Linked DNA regions of Homo sapiens: all the other regions are linked to region 1. The links are contacts of gene promoters, found by promoter capture Hi-C in blood cells and fetal thymus (Javierre and others, 2016). All regions are on one chromosome and are shown on one strand. Each heading gives the region's core, a stretch centred on a gene start or on the middle of the fragment in contact. The rest is flanking DNA. Distances are from core to core; before and after follow the strand shown. Region 1 holds the start of ZNF597 (zinc finger protein 597). Region 2 overlaps MEFV (MEFV innate immunity regulator, pyrin). Region 3 overlaps OR1F1 (olfactory receptor family 1 subfamily F member 1). Region 4 overlaps ZNF200 (zinc finger protein 200).

Region 1 (3,262 bases), core at 381-2,880:
GGAGGCTGGGCCAGGAGAATCGTTTGAATCCAGGAGGCAGAGATTGCAGTGAGCCGAGATCGCGCCATTGCACTCCAGCCTAGGCGTCGCAGCGAGACTGTCTCAAAAAAAAAAAAAAAAAGAAAAGAAAAGGAGAAAGTTGGGCAGCCCAGGAAGAATCATAAAGAGATAAAGGTTACAGGATTCTCCCAACATCCTTCCCTTTGCTATTTCCTCTCGTCCCCATGACACTCATTGCTAAGCTCACTCCAGCACTTCATCCAGGCCTACCCCACCTTCTCTAACGGTGTGATAAATTAATCACTTGGGATTTATTATTACTCAACGAGTGTGGAGTCTAGAAATGTGCTTAATTTAAAAATTCATTCAAATTGGAGAAGTACCAAATCTGTAATTTTGGGAACCATTCCAGAAAGTCACTTTTAATCCTAGCACTTTGGGGAGCCGAGGTGGGAGGATAGCTGAAGGCCAGGAGTTCCTTGGCAAAGCAGCAAGACTCCATCTCCATAAAGAAGTTTTAGGCCGGGCGCAGTGGCTCACACCTGTAATTCCAGCACTTTGGGAGACCGAGGCGGGCGGATCACAAGGTCAGGAGATTGAGACCATCCTGGCTAACACGGTGAAACCCCGTCTCTACTAAAAATACAAAAAATTAGCAGGGCGTGGCGGCAGGCGCCTGTAGTCCCATCTACTCGGGAGGCTGAGGCAGGAGAATGGCATGAACCCGGGAGGCGGAGCTTGCAGTGAGCCGAGATCGCGCCACTGCACTCCAGCCTGGGCGACAGAGCGAGACTCTGTATCAAAAAAAAAAAAAAAAGAACTTTTAAAAGTAGCCAGACACTGTGGTATGCGCGCCTCTCAGATACTCGAGAGGCTGAGGCGTAAGGATTCCCTGAGTTCCAGACGGAGCTATGATATCAGCACTGCACTCCAGCCAGACAAGCAACACTCCAGCGACAAGGCCAGACCCTATCTCCAAACAAAACAAAACAAACAGATAAGACATTGAGAAACTCTCTCAGAGATTCCTCCACAGGTCCCTGCTCCCAGTTGGTAGTTCTGAAAGAAGGAAGTTGGTAAACCATTATGTGTGTGGTCTTGGAACGAAGAACACTTGGTCAAAGGGCTATTTGGGGCTCAGGAGCACTCCTACCACAACAGGCATGCCCAACTCTCCTCCAAAGGAGGGGGTCAGGCAGAGACCGAAAGCAGCAATAAACTTGGACGAAAAAGGTACCTCGACTCACCTGGGCCTCGGGCGTCGGGGGCATGGACGCCATTTGGCGGGTGGGGAATGCCTTCTTCAAGACGCCACAGGGACTTCGTGACAAAGCTGCGGGGGGAGAGAACAGTTCTTAAAGGGACCAATTCCGCTGCCAAGTTCCTCCACTACCCCTAGCCTCCCTCGATTCCCTCCGAACCCCCCCTTAAAAACCTACGCCGACTGCTCCTCCTCTTGGCCCGGCCTCGAAAGGGGCCCACTTACCGCTCCGCGGTTAATAACAGGCCTCGCGCTCCCTGACAGGAGCTGCAGAAAGCGACGCCCGACCGAGACGCGACGAAGAACGCCACGGCCACTGCAAAACTCCCACGCTCTCATGCTCCTTTACGCAGGAGCTGCGGGAAAAGCCGCCGGAAGCGACCCGCCCTCAGCCCTCTCCGCCATCCTGCCCTTTGATTGGTCGAAGTTCTCCCGAAGGGGAAGTCCTTCTTTTGTGTTGACCAATTGAACACCTTAACCGAGGACCTGTAGCCACTGGGCAGCTGCGAGAGGTAGTTTTCCTCCTTTTCTCTAAGCAACCATTTCCGCTTCCGCTGGCGGGGTCTCCTCCGTGAGCTCCGGGCCTGTTTGCCTGCTGAAGTAGAGTCTTAGGGTGACCCCAGGGGGACGTAATGTTTCCGAGAAGAAGGACAGAAAGAAGACTGGGAGACACCGGAACTCGAAAGAAAATCGGTAACAAAATGTGGGTTCGGCCAACAGTGCCCTGTAGGCCTGAAATTTCGGTCTGGCCAGAGCAAGGTGATTGAGAGGGCGGGGGTTCGGGCCTAGCCTGGGCTTGAGCTGTCCTTTGTGTCTTGAGCGGATGGTGGGGCCGTGGAACATGAAGGAGTATCTTTGTGTACGTTCACAACGTTCACATCGGTGTAGGCCAGGTTGCTGGACTCTGACTCAAAGTGTTATAGAGGCATTACGTATTGTACCCGCAGCTGCAGCCTAAGCGAGCTGCTTCAGCTTCCTAGTCACAGGATCCCACGCGAGAATAGAGCCATAGGTTAGCGTCGCAGGACGTTGTTCGCCCCCGGATACCTCACATGCAGCCTACCCTAGAGCCAGTCATTTCCTATTGTGTGCTGGGGGAGGAGGGAGTGCCCTGGTGTAGGCATTTGGAATTGGAAAATTGAGCTCCTCCCCAAGCTCTGCCACTGATTGGTTGGTAATCTTGGCCAGTTTACAACTTTGCTTTCCTCAGCTGCAAACAGCTCAGAGTGCCTCTCTGGGCTAACTCAGAGGGTAATTTCAAAGATTATAAGATAATGTAAGTGAAAGAAATTGCCAGTTTATAAAGGTGTTTGGGGAAAAAAAAAGACGAAAATGATAGGTACCTTGATAGAAAAGCCTGAAAAGTCTCAACATATTTCCTTATTCCAGTGCCAGGCACATTCCTGTATCTAAAAGCTTAATGAATGGCTGCATGGTTATTAAAACAATATTAGGAGATTTGACAACTTAGGTAATGTGATTTTGTGGAATATCTGATAGGATAGTTTCAGCTACAAGTAACAGAAAACCCACCGAAAGGATGTTCAAAGAGCAGTTACAGGTTGGTTAATTCGGTGGCCCAGTGACAACATCAAGGTCCCAGTGCTTCTCTGCCACCCTAAGCATGTTGGTAACGTTGACAATAGAATCCAGGTAAAATATACAGACATGTATTGTGTCATGTACCCATCCTAAACTAGTTATTACCAAGAATAAATAATTGTTTGGGGCCCATCATGCTTCAGCCCCTGTCACTAGGGGAAGGACCTAGCCTCCCTTGATAATCTACCTGCACAAAATTAGGGCTTTGTTACAAATGAAAAAAAGAGATGTGGAAAATAAGTTAGATAAGAAACTAGCAGTATCTGCCACAAATGATATCTCTTGACAGCTAACTAAGAGCTAGACCTTGTGGGGATGGATCACAAAAGAGGTAGCTGTGAAGTCCCAGTAAAGGTGCTTCCAGGACAGGTGGAAGAATGGTAAGAACAAACTTGCCTA
Region 2 (3,098 bases), core at 564-3,063, 200 kb before region 1:
TTGGAATACATGCCAAATGTTTTTCCATACAGTAGTCCCATCTGCTTCCTGAAATGCAGTCGGGAAATGGGATTCCACAGTGATTGAGTGACAAATGCAAATGACCAGATTTTCTAATTTTTTTATTCATGAGGCCCAGTCAATTCTCTTAAGAATCATGGCCCGGCATGGTGGCTCATGCCTGTAATCCCTGCACTTTGGGAGGCTGAGGTGGGTGCATCACCTGAGGTCAGGAGTTTGAGACCGGCCTGGCCAACATGATGAAACCTCATGTCTACTAAAAATGCAAAAAATTAGCCGGGCATGGTGGCGGGCGCCTGTAATCCCAGCTACTTCGGAGGCTGAGGCAGGAGAATCTCTTGAACCTGGGAGGCGGAGGTTGCGAGCCAAGATTGCACCACTGCACTCCAGCCTGGGTGACAAGAGCAAAACTTTGTCTCAAAAAAAAAAAAAAAAAAGAATCATAGGCCGGGCACAGTGGCTCATGCCTGTAATCCCAGCACTTTGGGAGGCTGAGGCGGGTGGATCACCTGAGGTCAGGAGTTCGAGACCAGCCTGGCTAACATGGTGAAACCCCCGTCTCTACTAAAAATACAAGAAAACCAGCCTGGTGTGGTGGCACGCACCTGTAATCCCAGCTGCTCAGGAGGCTGAGGCAGGAGAATCGCTTGAACCTGGGAGGTGGAGGTTGCAGTGAGCTGAGATCGTGCCACTGCACTCCAGCCTGGGCCACAGAGCAAGATTTGGTCTCAAAAAAAAAAAAAAAAAATCATAGTTCATTAATCCAGGTACACAAATACTTCTATCCCAATCCAGTCTGCTTGCGTTTCTCTAGGCTTCCCATATCCTCAAGACAGAAGCAGAGAGAACAAGGGGACATATATCCTTGCCGTGGGGTTCTGAGGGAAAATGAGGGCCAAATCTTCTGTTCAGGAGCACCTGAGAGTGCCACCCACCAGGGGCGGATTATGCAACGACTCCGTACTTCCTCCTCTGAAATCCATGGTGTGTCATCAGTACATGTCTTCACCCGGATTGACTAACATGTTCGTTCCTAACTTACCTCTGCTATAATCGGGTAGGCTCCGTGGGCACAGTAACTATTTTGTTATTTTTGCATTTCCCATAGCAGCTAGCACCTAGTCGGCATTCCGTGACTATTGAGTGTGAATGCAAGATACAAGGCCAGAAGCAGGAAGAGAGATGCAGTGTTGGGCATTCAGTCAGGCCCCTGACCACCCACTGGACAGATAGTCAGAGGAGCTGTGTTCTTCCCTCCATCACGTGTCCCAGGGCTGAAGATAGGTTGAAGGGGCCCAGAGAAAGAGCAGCTGGCGAATGTATAGATGTGGGATCTGGCTGTCACATTGTAAAAGGAGATGCTTCCAACTCTGTAGTCCACGAAGATGCCCACACGCTTGGGAGGCTCCTTTATTAGCAGGCGGGTCGGGGGAACGCTGGACGCCTGGTACTCATTTTCCTTCATCATTATCACCACCCAGTAGCCATTCTCTGGCGACAGAGTCATGTTCCCTTTCCTGCTTATGGATGTCTTGCAGGCTCCCAGGATCCATGCTGTCTTGTCTCCAACCTCCACCTCCCAGTAACGGCGGCCAGAGAGGAAACTCGGAGAGCCCAGAACAATGATACAGCTGTCAAATCTTTGCGGGCCATCAGGCAGCCTCTCCCACTTGTTTCCAAGTCTAACACTCTTCAGATCATCAGAGAAGATGAGGTTGGGGTAAGCGGTTTCTGCATCCAGAATCACATTAACTGCAAAGAAAATTTGAATACCTAGGTAGGGGTCCATGGGCAACATCCCTACAGGGTTCTCCCCACCTGCAGGAAACAGGGACAGGGTAGTTCTTCTGGAACGTGGTAGGGGAGAGCACAGGGATCCAGCAGGCCAGGGCCACTTGCCTTGATCTGGGCACTTACCAGCATGTGCCTGAGCGCCAATCAGCTCCGGAACTACGGAGAAAAATCAGATAGGGAAAAAAATCCTGAGCATTAGCATTAAGAGGGGCTAAATTACACTGTCCTGACAACAAGGAAAGACAAGGAACCCCCTGCTTAGGGCCCTGCATGCTATGTTGGGTATAATCCCGTTCCTCCCAGGAACCCAGGCCATGTTGGGGACTGTGGTCTAATGAGTCAACTCAGTCAATGAGTCACGCACAGAGCCTGGGGGGCCTGCCATGACCTTTCTCCTACCTTTGCTCCAGGTGTTTGGTTTTTTTTTTTGTCTTCTAAATAGGGCCCCTCAAGTCAACAGCACAAGGGAACACTGCAACAACCCCAGGCCAGCACACACCATTACCGCTGGACTCACCATTGAACATTTCCATTTCTGAACGCAGGGTTTCTAAAATGTGGGAAAGGGAGCAGAGAGAAGCTGGAGTTAGGTCCCTCAGCCAGGGACAGATGGAGGAGAGGTTGAAGGCAGGTCAGCAAGACCAGGGGAAGAGGAGGGAAGTGAGGGGCTCTGGGCTATGTGGATCTTAGGGAGGAAGTGAGCATGCACCTCCAATCTTCTCCCAAGCCCATCTACCTGAGAAGTACTTTGTGCTCTTCTCCACAAACTCTGACTTCTGGTGGAGGAGTTGGATCTTTTGTTTTATCTCTTGAGGAGTGGTCCACTTTTCAGGGACAGGCACTGTCTTAGCCCTAGAGACAAAAGACTGTTGACCAGAGAAGGCCGGAGCGAGGGGGTGGCCCAAGTACCCGTGAGCTGGAAATGAACTACATTCTCCACAGGGCACACCTAGCCCAGCCTGAGCTACACAAAGAAAAGTCTTCCCTGGATTCAGAGGTCTAAATGCTGGTCCTCAACTTTGGCCACAGACTGTCATGTACTGGGGTGCTTTAAAGACATGGATATCAAAACCACAAGGAGTTTTCAGAATGGACTTAAAATGACATTGATATTATCTACTAGAATTATCTATGTCAAATTGATTATACACCCCTTTCTTTCTATTGAAATAAAAAGATAATAAATGAAAAAAAAACACACACAACAAAATATCCCTTCACATCCATTAGAATGGCTATTATAAAAACAGCAACAACAGAAAAAAATAGACCAGGTATGGTGG
Region 3 (3,228 bases), core at 709-3,208, 240 kb before region 1:
GTAGGAAGCAGGGCTCGGACACTGGACCAAATTGAGGATTAGCTAAAAGAGATGGGGCGGAAGCAGCTTTCCATAAGACATACCCACCAGTGACACCCAGGCGTCACTGCCCCTTTCCATGGCAATGACTCAGTGACCCAAACGTTACTACCCCTTCCCTAGAAATTTCTGCATAAACTGCACCTTATTCTACATGTACTTAAAAATGGGTATAAATATGGCTGCAAAACTCCCTAGAGCTGTTACTCTCAGCACACTGCCTATGGGGGAGCCCTCCTCTGCAGGAGCAGTCAGGCAGCTGTAACACTGCCTGCTGCTTTAGTAAAGCTGTTTTCTTCTACCACTGGCTCGCCCTTGTATTCTTTCCTGGGCAAAGCCAAGAACCCTTGCAGACTAGGCCTCACTTTGGGGCTCGCTTGTCCTGCATCAGTACAATGTTATTAATAAATAAACATTGGTAGAGGGAAGTTTCATGTGCCCTGTGGCTGCTAGTCTGGAAGGATGTGAATTTGGAGCCACTGTTGGACATCTTGCTGCCACATGAGGAGAGGTAATCTGCAGAATGAAGCTGAGCAGAAGCCAATGCAGTAGTGAGATAGAGAAATACAGGGTCTTGATGTTATCATTCAGCTCCCTGAATTTGGTCTGGCCTGAAACACAAAGGCTTTGCAAGAAGACACCTTGGATTTTGTAATGACATTAACCTGTCATTTCTCCCTAGGCTGATATGAGTTGGTTTTCTATCGCTTGCAAATAATGTCTTTGCTAATTCAGTGTCCATTCTCCTCCTCCTCCCCAGATCTTTCGTAATTAGCTTTATGGGTTGTTTGTTGTTCTTGTTGTTTGTTTGTTTTTAAGACGAATTCTCGCTCTGTTGCCCAGCCTGGTGGGCATGGTAGTGCACGCCTGTAGTACCTTGCCTGGGCAACAAGAATGAAATTCCATCTCAAAATAATAATAATAATAATAATAATAATAATAATAATAATAATAATAACAATTTAATATCTTCAGCCTTCACCTAGTGGACATGGTCTTAGCCCAGTGCATTGATGAGGTTAAGAGTCACGAGATATTTAACATAAATTACCTAGTTTAGTTATTACAACCCTACAAGGTGAATATTATTTCTCCACTCTATAGATGATGGGAGCTGGTGATTCAGTGGAGGTTACTAGCTTTTCTAAGGCTATACAACTGGTAATGGTGGATCTGGAAATTGAGTGCTGGTCTGTGAAAATCCAAAGGTTATCTTCTTAATCCCAGTACAGCTTCACAGGTATCTCCCAACAAGATCAGCATCCCAGCTGGGTGGGGGATAAAATACAGGGTCGTGAGTTTCCTCTAGCAGAAGGATTGTTGCCAATGATTACCCCTTAGATTGCATCACTTTCAGTGTTGCCAAGTGCTGAGGCAGGAATTATGTATGACAAAGCTTTATCGTCAGTGTCGGACACAAAAGAGCCAAGGAGGGGAAGGGACAATTACTCTCTGCTTTTCTCAATGAGGCTCTCAGGGAATATGACCCTAGTGGCCATGGAGGCTCCTGTGAAGAGCTTGCCCTGTGATTCTTCCAAACATCCTTCCTGCATCAAGGGCTGAGTCTGTGCAGCCCAGCTCCTGATTCATGAGATACTCAGCCTCAAAGCTCCAGTGACGAGTCACCCTCCCTCAGACCAATAACCTCTGGCCAGGTCTGAAAAAGGGAAGCCAACCCAGGACTTCAGGAGACAGTGAGGACTGCTGCTCTTTCTGGGTAAGAGTCAGATCATTGGCCAGGTGTGGTGGCTCACGCCTGTAATCCCAGCACCTTGGGAGGCCAAGGCGGGCGGATCACGAGGTCAAGAGATAGAGACCATCATGGCCAACATGGTGAAACCCCGTCTCTACTAAAAATACAAAAATTAGCTGGGCGTGGTGGCACGTGCCTATAATCCCAGCTACTTGGGAGGCTGAAGCAGGAGAATCACTTGAACTAGGGAGCTGAAGGTTGCAGCGAGCCAAGATCTCGCCACTGCACTCTAGCCTGGCGACAGAGCGAGACTCCGTTTAAAAAAAGAAATAAAAAGAGTCACATCAGTGGGACTTCACTGATAACTGCTTGTCAGGACTTAAAGCCTCAGAGGGACCCTCCTTCCTTTCAATTATGTGGAGCCAGAAAAACAGTCCTGAGCTCAGCAGCAGTCCCTTGCAATCACCCAGTCAGGACCAGCCTCTGTCCCGTCTGTCTGACATCCTGAACTGTGGGGAACACAAACTGACTGAGTTTCTGCCCAGACCTCTGGGTTGTTCCATTTTAATTTTACAAATTGGACTCAGGGTGCTCCGTGGATATAGCCAAGAAGGCCTGGCTCAGACTTCTGTAAACCTGAGCCCTGAACATAGCAGTAGCAGCCCCAGCAGGGTTGACAATATTATCATTTACATCCTGCAAGCAAAATTCTACTGCCATTCCTGTGCCCCATCTTAACCAGCATTTTCCAAGCTTTTGCATTTCGTCTTCTTTGTCTGCCTCTGTGTCCAGGATCCCAGGCCCATGAGCGGGACAAACCAGTCGAGTGTCTCCGAGTTCCTCCTCCTGGGACTCTCCAGGCAGCCCCAGCAGCAGCATCTCCTCTTTGTGTTCTTCCTCAGCATGTACCTGGCCACTGTCCTGGGGAACCTGCTCATCATCCTGTCCGTAAGCATAGACTCCTGCCTGCACACCCCCATGTACTTCTTCCTCAGCAACCTGTCTTTTGTGGACATCTGCTTCTCCTTCACCACCGTCCCCAAGATGCTGGCCAATCACATACTCGAGACTCAGACCATCTCCTTCTGTGGCTGTCTCACACAGATGTATTTCGTTTTCATGTTCGTGGACATGGACAATTTCCTCCTAGCTGTGATGGCCTATGACCACTTTGTCGCCGTGTGCCACCCCTTACATTACACAGCAAAGATGACCCATCAGCTCTGTGCCCTGCTGGTTGCTGGATTATGGGTGGTTGCCAACCTGAATGTCCTTCTGCACACCCTGCTGATGGCTCCACTCTCATTCTGTGCAGACAATGCCATCACTCACTTCTTCTGCGATGTGACTCCCCTACTGAAACTCTCCTGCTCAGACACACACCTCAATGAGGTCATAATCCTTAGTGAGGGTGCCCTGGTCATGATCACCCCATTTCTTTGCATCCTGGCTTCTTATATGCACATCACCTGCACTGTCCTGAAGGTCCCATCCAC
Region 4 (3,063 bases), core at 163-2,662, 220 kb before region 1:
AAAAAAGATGTGGTCTCAGTAAGTTGCTCAGGCTGGTCTCTAACTCCTGGATTCAAGGAATCCTCCCACCTCAGCTTCCAAAGTAGCTGGGACTACACGCACATGCCACCATGCCGTCTTGATAATGTTTTTTAAATTTTAAAAATAATTGTTTTTTGAAATGGTATCTCACTCTATAGCCCAGGCTAGAGTGCAGTGGCATAATCTCGGCTCACTGCAACTCCACTTCCCGGGTTCAAGCAATCCTCCTTCCTCAGCCTCCTGAGTAGCTGGGACTACAGATGCCTGCCACCGCAACTGGCTACTTTTTGTATTATTAGTAGAGATGGGGTTTCACCATGTTGGCCAGGCTGGCCTTGAACTCCTGACCTCAGGTGATCCACCTGCCTTGGCCTCCCAAAGTGCTGGGATTATAGGCGTTGAGCCACTGCACTCAACCAAATCTTTTTTTTTTTTTTTTTCGTAGACAGGGTCTCACTATGTTGCCCAGGCTGGTCTTGAACTCCTGGCCTCAAGCCATCCTCCTGATTCGGCTTCCCAAAGTGCTGGGATTACAGGTGTGAGCCACTGCGCCTGGCTTATTTTCTGTAGTTACTACTGGAATTGGATCTTTGGTCTCTTACATTTTCCAACTCTCGCTCTACCGCTATATTGGGAAACTGTTCACTGTTGTTTACTTTTTCAACTTAACTGGTGATCAGGCTCCTTAGGTAACAGAACTTACTCATCCAACAACTTCCCAGGGGCTCTCGTGTTTGGGGGCGGCCCCTGGTCCTGGTCGGGGCGCTCCTCTCATTCCCACCCAGCCTCACTATTGCGGAAGGAAACCCTGCGGCCCATGTCCTGCCCTCTGGGACACTGGGTGCTGATTGACGGCAACCCTGACCGTGGGCACCTCCCCAGTCCAGGAGATGGTGTGGGTTGTGGTGGCTTCACCCACCTACACTTAAAAAAACAAAAAGCTACTCAGGAAGCTGAGGCAGGAGGATTGTTTGAGCCTAGGAGGTGGAGGTTGCAGTGAGCCAAGATCGTCCCACTCCAGCCTTAGCAACAGAGCCAGTCTCAACTAAAGAAAAAAGTGTCTCAGGTACCGTGCCATGGCTTCATGAGAACTGATGTAACCCCCGACTCTGGGCAGGGCTGCCAAAGAGTGAGAGAGTGGAGACTCTCTCTCACCACTCACTTCCTGGCAGCTACTTTTCTGGATGCATGGGCAGGTCCCCTACACATGAGATGGTGTGGGTTGTGGTGGCTTCACCCACCTACACTTAAACGAAAAGCTACTCAAGAGGTTGAGGCAGGAAGATCGCTTGAGCCTAGCAGGCGGGAGGTTGCAGCGAGCCAAGATCACCCCACTCCAGCCTTATCAACAGAGCCAGTCTCAAAGAAAAAATTAACTGTCTCGGGTACTGTGCCATGGCTGCATGAGGACTGATAAAATACCCGACTCTGGGCAGGGGTACCAAAGAGTGAGTGGAGACTCTCTCTCACCACTCACTTCCTGGCAGCTACTTTTCTGGGTGCACAGGCAGGTCCACTGCACATGGTAACAGCCTGCCGACTCTGGAAACACAGTTCAGGATCCCAGTCCTAGTGCACTGGTCAGACTTTCAAATAAGCGAATAACGTTGTGGGCAGCCTGTTTTGTTCGCTTTGCTGGCTTTACAGGGTACTTCCTGTTGGCCTGAAATACAATGTTGGTAAAGACAGTTTTTCTGTGGCCTTTCTCTGTTGTGGAGGATTTGTTGTTTTTAAATTACGATTCAGGACTGAACTGTATCATAGAATGTCCTTCTTTCAGAATGCTTTGTGCCAAAACAAGAAACCTCAGAATTACATGTTAATAACAACAAACAAAACAAAAAAGACCAATAGGCAGAAGGCAAGAAACAAAAACTATTCTTTGTAGATGGTGTCATTTTACCAAAAGTTAACAGAACTAAACCAACAAACTATTGAAAATTAACAACAGTGAGATGACTATACAAATATATAATTAAAAATAACTTTCCCATGTAAAAGCAATAATCAACTATAAAAATATAATGGAAAAAACTACAATAACAAAATTGTGTAAAACAAGTGAAGAAAATTAGAAAAATTTTCACAGGAATATAATACTCTAATAAATAGAAAGGCATGTTTCTGGATGGGAAACATACACTATAATTTTTCCCAAATAGCTTATAGGATTTCTTTATTCCAATCAAAACACCAATGTATAACTTTTGGAAACCTAAAGCAAGCAAAACTGAAGAATCCCTAAATCGCACCACACGATCAGTCCGTAAAGGCACCGCTGGCCTTGCTTCTAGGCAGAGGACAGGAAGGTATGGATATCAAGAGGCTGAAGACAATTAATACCCACTACAATGAAGACACCTGGAAACCTGTCTCTTGAGAGGCAATGTGAGCTAACCACTGGAGACGTAATTTCTAATCATACAACACTTTGCCTTGTGAGGTAGTGACCACCCCATTGCCAAAGGTCTGATGACAGCATAGAGGGGACCTAAGCATATGGTAAGGTTATTGATGAGACATGGATCCAAGCCAACTTTTTCCTGCCTCCAGGTTGACCCTTCCTCTCTGGGTCTTGGGGTTTCCTTCGTAGCACATGAGATCTGGGCTCAACAGAGGGACAAGATTCTGAAGAGCTTTTCTAGTGGTGGGGCTGGATGGCCCTGCCTGAGTAATCCAAACTTCTTTTAGCAAGGGAGAAGCATGAGACGGCTGCTGGAGAGATCAACAGCAGAACAAAATACAATAAGAACAGTAGACACCTAAATTATGTTGTGAAAAGGAATCTGTAAAAGTCAGTTTTATCACAAATTGTAAATATTATTGAAATTGATTGCAAATTTAGATCACATACAAATGAGAGTCTGACATTCAACTGTTTTCCTATATTCCAAAGTAAACAATTCCTTTCAACACTCAAGACTTAAACAGGTATTCTTAGAGGGTTATATGAATTGCTATCAGAAGCTGTTGGCTAACAAGCCAGTAATTTGGTTCTTTCACCAGAACACAGTTCCAGATAAGCATCTTTGCACTATTTCT

What was found. The method cuts DNA at HindIII sites, captures the fragments that hold promoters and counts their contacts. A CHiCAGO score of 5 or more calls a contact.
Region 2: a fragment that was not itself captured here is called in contact with the fragment with the promoter of ZNF597 in region 1 in 12 of 17 cell types (total CD8 T cells, monocytes, total CD4 T cells and 9 more); the score reaches 9.0 in total CD8 T cells.
Region 3: a fragment that was not itself captured here is called in contact with the fragment with the promoter of ZNF597 in region 1 in 10 of 17 cell types (erythroblasts, M1 macrophages, monocytes and 7 more); the score reaches 9.8 in erythroblasts.
Region 4: a fragment that was not itself captured here is called in contact with the fragment with the promoter of ZNF597 in region 1 in 8 of 17 cell types (monocytes, fetal thymus, M1 macrophages and 5 more); the score reaches 8.1 in monocytes.

Annotation. Positions count from the first base shown.
Region 1 is chr16:3,441,874-3,445,135 of GRCh38, forward strand. It overlaps ZNF597 (zinc finger protein 597), which reads right to left and starts at 1,631. Exons shown (of 4, transcript NM_152457.3): 1 at 1,487-1,631; 2 at 1,248-1,333. The coding sequence starts at 1,280. It overlaps NAA60 (N-alpha-acetyltransferase 60, NatF catalytic subunit), which reads left to right and starts at 1,807. Exons shown (of 8, transcript NM_001083601.3): 1 at 1,807-1,964. RefSeq lists an enhancer at 1,891-2,040. The HindIII fragment of the contact is 9,083 bases long and covers 1-2,675 here.
Region 2 is chr16:3,241,922-3,245,019 of GRCh38, forward strand. MEFV (MEFV innate immunity regulator, pyrin) reads right to left here. Exons shown (of 10, transcript NM_000243.3): 7 at 2,552-2,667; 8 at 2,333-2,365; 9 at 1,939-1,971; 10 at 106-1,773. The coding sequence ends at 1,220. Among named protein-coding and RNA genes, the nearest start is that of ZNF200, 8.3 kb to the left of the region's middle. RefSeq lists an enhancer at 1,401-2,600. The HindIII fragment of the contact is 4,878 bases long and covers 1-3,098 here.
Region 3 is chr16:3,201,711-3,204,938 of GRCh38, forward strand. It overlaps OR1F1 (olfactory receptor family 1 subfamily F member 1), which reads left to right. Exons shown (of 4, transcript NM_001370640.6): 4 at 2,525-3,228. The coding sequence starts at 2,537. Among named protein-coding and RNA genes, the nearest start is that of TRP-AGG1-1, 11 kb to the left of the region's middle. The HindIII fragment of the contact is 1,050 bases long and covers 1,434-2,483 here.
Region 4 is chr16:3,220,443-3,223,505 of GRCh38, forward strand. It overlaps ZNF200 (zinc finger protein 200), which reads right to left. Exons shown (of 5, transcript NM_198088.3): 5 at 1,883-3,063. Among named protein-coding and RNA genes, the nearest start is that of ZNF200, 13 kb to the right of the region's middle. The HindIII fragment of the contact is 4,719 bases long and covers 1-3,063 here.